Regions from separate parts of the Homo sapiens genome. Here region 1 is linked to region 2. Evidence: promoter capture Hi-C in human tissues and cell types (Jung and others, 2019). All regions are on one chromosome and are shown on one strand. Each heading gives the region's core, a stretch centred on a gene start or on the middle of the fragment in contact. The rest is flanking DNA. Distances are from core to core; before and after follow the strand shown.

What was found. The method cuts DNA at HindIII sites, captures the fragments that hold promoters and counts their contacts. A contact is called where the count stands out against the background at its distance.
Region 1: a fragment that was not itself captured here is called in contact with the fragment with the promoter of CDH8 in region 2 in 3 of the 25 tissues and cell types used here (aorta, dorsolateral prefrontal cortex and hippocampus).

The regions. Positions count from the first base shown.
Region 1 is chr16:61,814,049-61,818,519 of GRCh38, reverse strand. CDH8 (cadherin 8) reads left to right here. Exons shown (of 12, transcript NM_001796.5): 7 at 788-1,041. Among named protein-coding and RNA genes, the nearest start is that of CDH8-AS1, 100 kb to the left of the region's middle. The HindIII fragment of the contact is 4,777 bases long and covers 685-4,471 here.
Region 2 is chr16:62,033,758-62,038,304 of GRCh38, reverse strand. It overlaps CDH8 (cadherin 8), which reads left to right and starts at 1,867. Exons shown (of 12, transcript NM_001796.5): 1 at 1,867-2,225. It overlaps LOC124903777 (a long non-coding RNA gene), which reads right to left and starts at 1,715. Exons shown (of 2, transcript XR_007065217.1): 1 at 1,528-1,715; 2 at 872-1,092. RefSeq lists an enhancer at 3,565-4,066. The HindIII fragment of the contact is 11,196 bases long and covers 1-4,547 here.

The sequences.
Region 1 (4,471 bases), core at 1,824-4,323, 220 kb after region 2:
ATGAGGTAATTTCAAATTGCTTTTAAGTGGTTTGTGGGGGCACAATTAGATTCAGTTATCTATTTATACTGCTCACATAATTTCTTCTTCTAAATATAAACACAAGTACATACATATGTATCGGTGCACATATTTCTTTACATGCCCACCTGCCTCATAGCATAAATTCATAATAGAGAGTCTCTAAGAATGTCCTAAAAAATAATAAACCTCATTTTAACCACATGATCAGTAGAGTAGCAATGCTTTAAAGTGAAATCAGAAAATACTCTTTGTGGGGATTAGTGCTAAATTATGCTTTATAATGTCTCCTTGGACTAAACAATGATTATTTCTAGTTCTTTACATTTCACACTCTGTTGCAGAAATGATAAAATATTCTTCCCAGACAGAGATTGTGTTCGATGTCGCCTTATCTCCCACCAGCAGAGGCCTGATTAAGTGGCTGATTAGTATGCAGGTCATGCTGTCACTAGTAAAATTTTATTATGACTCTGAAGTGAAATTTTGATGGCACAATTCATGACTGTGAATATTTTGTGAATTCCAAGTGAAATGAGCAAAACAAAACAATAGGAGATTAGATTCACTGAGCTTATATAATAAACAGACATAAATAAATGCCCATAAAATTTACAGGTTGAATCTGGGGGACTGGAGAGTGATCCCATTAAGGCTCACAAATGGGTTTAAATGCACATAACTTTCATCCATCAGCATTATACTCATTTGTTCTTGCTGCTGTGGTCATTAGTGAGAAGCATTTATCTTTGTCATTTCTTAACAGCCTCTGGACTTTGAGACCAAAAAATCCTATACGCTAAAGGTAGAGGCAGCCAATGTCCATATTGACCCACGCTTCAGTGGCAGGGGGCCCTTTAAAGACACGGCGACAGTCAAAATCGTGGTTGAAGATGCTGATGAGCCTCCGGTCTTCTCTTCACCGACTTACCTACTTGAAGTTCATGAAAATGCTGCTCTAAACTCCGTGATTGGGCAAGTGACTGCTCGTGACCCTGATATCACTTCCAGTCCTATAAGGTATTTTTATTTTAAAAGGAATACTGGCTACTGCAAATGACAAGCAGATCAGTGAAAAATGCCTTTGCTTGTACCTTCTGTGGGGCTCTCCTTGGGACTATGCTCACATGACCAAATAATGTTGGTTGGCACATACTGTGTGTGTGTGTGTGTGTGTGTGTGTGTGGTGTGTACACGCACACGTATGCCTACTAAGTGCTACATAGAGCCCAGAGCCAGGAACAATAAGATGAATACAGCTATTCCAGCTCTTAGAGAGCTCTATGAAAATGCAAAGTTGCAAATGTTTGCAATACATTTGGGTGGATCTTGTTATTTTTATGTTTTTGTTTGTTAGTGCTTTTTTTGTTTGTTTGTTTAGCTTTGGGGAAGCATTGCTAGTTTGTCCTCTGTCTCTTTTGACAGTTATGGTGAATTATATATTAGAATTTAGAGGCACGAGACCATAGTGTCAATGCATTAAGAGGCTCCTATTTTATTTCTGCATTTGGTGTTTGGCTTTGAAATGATCTTTTTATTACTTCTTGGACATTTCTGATAGGTCAGCATATCTGGTTTGGTGTCTCCTAGATAAAAATCTTTCTCTGCCATTTCAAAAATACCCTCTGTTTATAGTTTTTCTGCTCAAAATTTTTCCCCAGGATGCGAAATAATTCTTTATTAAAGCTTTTCTGTCTTTTTTAGAAATGAAGCTCCATTCGATTTTTTTTTTCTGTTGTACTGTACACATCTTTTTTCTTTTTCCAGTCACCCAAATGACAGTACAGGTTCTCCAGCTAAATAGCTTTCTCCTGAAAGCACACTGAAAATCTATAACTTCTATGCTGGTCTCCAAGGGTGAAGTGTTGGCTAATGATGTGTTTTGAGTGTGGATTTCAAATATTGTCTTACAAATATTTGTTGCAAAATCAAGGAGATAGAGAGTAAGAAGTAGATGGAGGAATACAATTTTAAAGAATTGTCCAGCTGATTTCTGAGTTTGATGTCAGCTCATACCAAACCCTTTCAATTTACAAGTCACAAATAACTAGGGCAGACCTGCTTCCAATTACTTCATTTGGGGAAACCCTGGTAAAGTGAGTTATCTGTCGGTTTATTTATTCGATTTTTTAAAAAATGTATTAAATTCCTGTTACTCACAAGGGTGCTGAGACTATGAGGCTGAGATTAAAACCTTGCAGGACAATCAGCACCCCAAATAAGTTGAATTTGTACAAAAATTATTTACAGACCCAGAAGAGCACTTTTTGTTTTTAAGTACAAATCATTTCTAAATTCAGAATAACAAATAAGACTACAGCCAATAAGTATGCAAAGAAGACTCTTCCTGCAGAAGAGTCTAACCTCTAAGAAGATGAAACTACCTGGGGATTTGAGAAATGGTCCATTGGCCATTCTCAGTTCTAAAGAAATTTCACAAACTATAGACATATGCAAAAAATAAGGGTATTTGGCTAAGAAAATTATATCTATTAATGGGCCAATGTTGAATGCAATGGGAGGAATATCCAAAAAAAAATTTACATTGGCATTAATTTCCGGAAAATATAGTGAAATTATGCAATGGCTTTATGCTGGAATGCTGACATTAATGGGGACAATGATATTTGTTGAGTGGATGAATCTGCCCTGTTCCTATGTTTCTCAATTTCCTCTGAAAGGAACTCAAAAAGGAGTAGTTGCCACATCCTTTACATCTCCAAGCAGGAGAAAGAATGTGAAGGGAGGAAATGAGATTGGTTCAACTGAGACACCAATCAGAGGACCGGTTTTAGTGCTTGATTTGACAAGGTTTCTACTCTTGTCAGCCAGGAGCATGTAAGGGCTTCAGAGTCTGCCAAGCCAAGGGTCCTTAGGGAAAATAAGGGTTCAGATATCAGCACAATAATATAAGCTCCCAACATGGACTACATGGTACCAGTGGGAATGGACTGGCTGTGCAGAGACACGATCTTAATCATCTAGAGATGAGGCTTAAGGAACTTTCATGCCATAGTAAAAGTAGCATCTTATTGGCAGAGCTAGCTATAAATCCAGGTTCATAGTTGTCCACATATGGTTGCACATTTTATAATCTATTCATTTTACTGATGTAAAAATGGAGATTTACTGATACTAATTCCAGTTCACAGGGAATCAAGAGAAGATTCTCATTGTAGTTGCTAGTTATTATTATTGCTATTGCTACTTTTATTACTGTTACTGGCAGGAAAGTTTGTGTAGAGGAAGCTTGAGGCTGTTTAGAAATAACTGTCCAGCTTAGAAGCATTTCATTTTCAGGAAAGCTAAAGGGGATTTGAGACTGTTTTTACCAGGAAGAGATGGACAGATAAAGCACTATTTGATGACACAGGCATATCTGTGCTTCTGATAGATGTCAGGCAAGTGCTAGTTCTTCAGCATCTATGGTTCTACCCAAAGAAGGGACAAATGCTGTTTCAAAGCATTTACAGCAGCCTTTGGCATGTCATTCAGAAGGGGGAGCCCACACATTTTTTATTAAACCTGGCTTGGCTCCATGGGATGAGAACTTAAGAATCACAAACCATATTTTTCAACATCTGTTCTGCAGTTCTACAGTCCTCTGCCCCCACCTCCACCCCAGTTGGATCATGGAGAGCAGCTTCCCTCTCTCTATGCACAATTGGTTAATTTCAGAAGAAAATTAAATTTCCTGACTAGCCAGAGCAATGCATAGTTCCTTATGAGTCTAGCAGACAGATTTAGAGCCATTTAACCTTTTTAGACAGAACCAGAGGATATGGATATTCAGGGAATTATTGGGTAACACATAGCTATGCATTATTTTCTCTTTAGGACTGTTGTATTTTATACACTGACAAGAATGTATCCATCTTTTAGGATAACGTTTAATTTGCTATCCAGCAAGAAATAGGCAGTTATCCCAGCATCTGCCATGCTAAAACATACAGTTATTTGTTGGTTGGTTGGCTTCTCACGCGGTTCAATTTCTTTTTAGAGCACATTGTCAAGCTAGAAATATCATGTATTTTTGACTTCTTATACCTACTACTATATCTCTATCTGTATGTATTTGTCTGTATATTCCTTTACGGGGGAAAATGAAAAGTGACATAGAGAAAAATCCGTCATCTTACCCTCTCACTTGCAGGAACATTAATTAGTTCCTTGCTACTTTCTGCAATACTATGTCTTTCACTAATGTAAAATAAAGTTGTGTAAATTATTTAAAATATGACATATTTTGAATTTAGGGAGACTAAGGTTGAAATCATATCACTACTACTTCCCAGTCGGAGAACTAGTCTCTGGAATTCTCTGAGATTCAGTTTTCTCCTCCGTATGGGATAATATCATCTTTCTTGCAGTGTTAATGAGATGATTAAGTGACAATATTGAATAAAATATGTGGTAGCTAGTAGGGTTACCAGTTAATAAAAGGTAAGCC
Region 2 (4,547 bases), core at 618-3,117:
CATTGGATTCTGGCTCTCTTTAAAAGCCATTGGATTCTGACTATCTTTACTATGTCAGCATAGTTTGTTAAGAAAATGAGATTTGAGGATATTGTCTAACAATCTGGCTTTTTTTTTTTTTTTTGAGACAAGTTTGTTACTTGTGACAATCCCCAGCTTTCAGTAGCACATGAGTTTTTTTGAGTTTTCATAGATGTAAGAAGTTACCCCAAGGAACGGTTCAAATTATTTGTTCAAGTGAAAATGAATATCTGAAATTAAGCACAACCCAAAATGTGATCTATTTCTTTGTCCACTTGGGACTGTCTGGTCTAGCAGCAGTTATAATTTGATTGAGCCTTGACTGCTGCTCCTTTTTCCAAGACAGAATTAGCCAATTCCAATACCCTGTAAGCAGACACAGTCTGAGAAGAGAACAAACAGTTACTTAGTGACTGCCTGGGGGAAAAAAAATACCACTTGGTTCTCTTCACCTCTCCCTCTCTGAAATAATCCACTAAGTTTCTTGCCTATGACAGCTAGAACATGAAACAATCAGATATTAGAGCTACAGCCAATACTCTTTTTCACATTTCACAATGGGTTGTCAGATGCAGCACACAAAAAAATGTCAAATTTGCATAAATATCATAAGCATGTTGTGCCTATTTTCTCATTCTGTTCACTCTTTCTCATTAATTTGAGTGAGACAGTACAAGCTCTACAGACTGTGCGTCTTGTCCCCTGCACCTTTTTCCCCCTTCTGTTCTTGCTCTGTCCCCAGATGGTAAAATCCACCCTCAGGCTCACGTCTAGTGCACACAGGGAAGGGACTAAATCGGGATCTCCTGTGGAGGGGAGGGTTTTTTTTTTTAAGGTAAGAATTTATTTGTCTTATATTTATCTAATTTTATTAGAAGATGATGACTGTGGCATCGTCTACATGTTAGCCCCAGTGTTGAAAAAGAAAAGAAATCTGGACCTCCTGATTCATGGTCCCTTTTACCCCAGGGTGGCCATTTCTCAAGATCTGAGCGCAGCCCATCAGAAGACTTGAAGTGACCACAGACAGGGCAGGTCTTGGTGGAGGCAGGAGAACCGCAAGGATGGTATCTGAGAGGATATGACAAGATCAGGGCACATTGAGAAGACCTAGAAATTCCTCCCCTATTTCCCAAGCAAGTTCTGCTTTGCCTGCCCTCCTCCCCACAACCAACTACTGCGCGCCCCTCCTGGCTGCCACTCTGCTGTCCCTCATCCCATTTTCCCAAAGGAGCACGGGGACATCAGGAATGCGCTCCATCACAGAACCGCGACACACAGCCTCTACATAGCGTCTGAGTTGCAGGCAGGGGTCTCACAATCACCCTATTCTGTACGCAAGAGGCCCTTGGAATAAAGAGGAGGTAAGCTGCCCACGCTCAACCCTTTGCCCTGTCGCGTCCTCTTCCTCCTACGGAAAATAGCTGCGGGTCACTGAGACGCTTTTCAACATAACGCCAGCCCCAGAGCTCAGGTGAGACCTCTAGAGAGAAAGCTCGCAGGTACCTCATCCGCATGCTGTTATTATCTGCCAGCCCACTTATCCAGGAGCTCGGTCCTCAGCGGGCTGCGCGCACCGCGCGGAAGGGCGCATCTTCACCTCGTGGCTCTGGCGGCAGAGACGCGCGGGGCTTGCTCGGGAGCGAGGAGCGAAAAGTTGTGCGCCCACTTGGGTAGGGGGAAAGAGAGCGATCGAGCCAGCGCGGGAGAGCGAAGGGGGAAGGCGGGGAGGGGGCGGGGAGGGGGGACTGCTTACATGAATTTCCAAGTGGTAGACCTGCCTCTGCGCTCTGCCCAATGAGATCCGTCAGGGGAGGCACCCGGCTCACTTTTCCACATCACTTCACAGTTACATTTGGCAGGCAGGCGGGCTCGCACGCCGGAGCGCTCAGCCCAGAATTAGTGGATTTATTTGGAATCTCCCTGCCTCCTCCAAGCTCCGCCGCCGCCGCCGGCTTGTGCATAGACGGTAGCGTCAAGACACCAGCTGCACTTTGGGTTGCGGACACCCAGAGCCCAGCGCGCCCGCCCTGCGTCTCCGCACCAAGCCCTGTAGCTCCGAGAGGCATGAACGGAATCCGGAGGCGCCTGCCTAGCGAGCGAGGACCGGTCGGCGCTTGCCGCCCTCGGGAGCTAACCCCGAGCACCTCCAGCCATTTGTGAACCTGGAGGCTTGACATTCGCCAGCGCAGGGCCCCACAAGAGTAAGTGTTCCCCTAACCCACCCCCGTTTTCCTCTATGTTCCGACTATCCAGAAGGGACCGTTTCTTATAGGAATTCCCATGCCCCTTCGGACACCTTGCGCGCCTCCTGCCCCTCAGATGGTGGATGAGGGTTCTTAGCATAGGCTCTGGGCTAAGCTGTGTCTTTCGCGATATCCGTGGGTGATAACGTACGTACGCCTCAAGGTTTTGCCTGACTGTTTTTGCAAACTGCTTTGACAACAGATCCTAGAGAGTAGCAAGCTCCAGGCTGTGCCCCTCCAGTTTTCCTGCCGGTTTCCTTCCCTGCGGCGACTTGGCTATTTCGCCGCTTCCCAACGCAGGCAGGCGCGGCTGCAGCCGCGCGCCTTCACTGCGGGGTCCGTGCGGTGAATGGGAAGCACCTGCAGCCCGCTGTGCGGAGGGTGCAAGCCAGGGAAAAAAGGAGGCGAGGGGGCCCGAGTGGTCTATGGCTGGTTTTCTGCACCGCCTCATCTCCGAGGCGAGGGAGGGCGACCCCCGCGGCAGGGCTGCGGGCCAAGGCTCAGCTGCGAAAGCCCCAGCGCGAGGCTTTCCCACAAGTGGCAGCTCCAGCTCTGGGAGGTGCGGTGCCCGCTACAAACTTGCCGGGCTCCGGAGTCGCCCTGCGGCTCTGCCCTCGCCAAGACGCTGCCCAGCACCCCTGCAGGACCCCCAGGCAGTGTCTCCCCGCAACTCGAGATTGCGTGCACGGAGGCCCCCTTAAGCCGGGGACTCCGTAGCCGCTCTCCTAGGGACAGCTGAGCCCAGACCTGCGCTTTCTGTGGTCTGGCCGCTTCTCATCCGGGAACCTTTGAGGGGCTGGTCGCGCCCCTCGCAGGATCGGAGGGAAAAAGGCTCTTGCCTAGGTTCTGCCAGTACGTAAGAGGTTCATAAGGGACCTACTCCGGTTCTCCCAGGATCCAGCCAAGGCTGGGAAACGGTAAAAAAACGTGCTGCCGCCAACGCTGATGCCAACAGGTATCCACAATTTCCTCCGCTTATTCCTCCCAAACACCAGAGCCTTCCCCCACCCAGTCTGGCAGAATCCTCAAAGTTTCCTTGCGGTTGACCCTTCCCCCGCAGGCACGGAGCCGGCGGCATGTCAAGGACTAGCCGTTTGCCTCCACCAGCGGAGATGGCAGCTGTTTGCTTGGGTTGCTAAATGTAAGAAATCAAACCACATTAATTGTTTATTGTTGCAAACGCACAATATTAGTCCGTAATGGAAAATCGGGCTGGCAGCTGCTCACTTCAGCACCAATTAAACGATAGAGCTTATCACCAAGACAGCGGGAGGGAGGAAAGGTCCTTTCAACTTTACCACCCTTTCCTGAAGATTCCACAAGAGTTTCCTCCTTAGGAGGCATGATTCGACAATCCCTTAGCGCGCCCGAGCTGCTAATCAGATCAGCTGCTTTCTTTCACCTGGCGTCATGATATCTGGGGGCTGACAATGGGAACGAGGGGACGCTAGGGAAGGTAAGCGAGAGTACTGTCCTCTCGCATCCGGTACCATCGCAAAGCAGATCCGAGGGATGGGGGCTGGCTTTTGAAGCGCCTGTTCTCTTTACAACACTCCTGACAGCCATCTCAATGGTTAAAAACCCTCCTTGGGCTGTCACCTCAGGCTTTATTATAGGAGCTTTTCAACTGGAAAACTATATGTGGGAAAGATGTTTATGTAAGATTCGAAAGTGGGATTTTCCATCCATTCAGCCTCGCTGCTGCACCTCACTGCATGCAAAGTGAGCCCTGTCGTTCATGCTAAATACCAGTAAAATCCCTGCCTAGATATTGCTTTGCATCAGCTGTGTCCAGTGTTGCAGGGATTTCTTCGTGTGCGTGTGTGTGTGTGTGTGTGTGTGTGTTTGAGAGAGAGATATATATATGAGGTGGGGGCTGGGAGTGGGATTCTTCTACAGAGAGAAGTGGTACCTTTGAAGGATGTTCTCTTAGGGTTACATTCTTTTTCCCTTAAAGGGAGTTCTCCATAATCATCATGTCCAGACATGTTTTTCCACTTCCCCGAGCTCTGTGGCTGGAATAAATTCTAGAGCTATCCCCCTTATTAAATAATAATTCTGATAATAATATTCTGTAATTCTGCTTTAGCAGATTTGAAGCTCGCTGTCACATAGTCATTTCATGCTGGAGCAGTCACAGTATTTTAAATCGCCTTTGATTTTTTTTTTTCTGGACTCTGAAGAAGGCGAGGAGTTGAGGAAAATCCCTCTGAAAACAGAGAGGGGAGTCTTTCCAGCAACTCCGGGGACTGCTTCATTCAGAGCCCTTCCGTGGCAGTT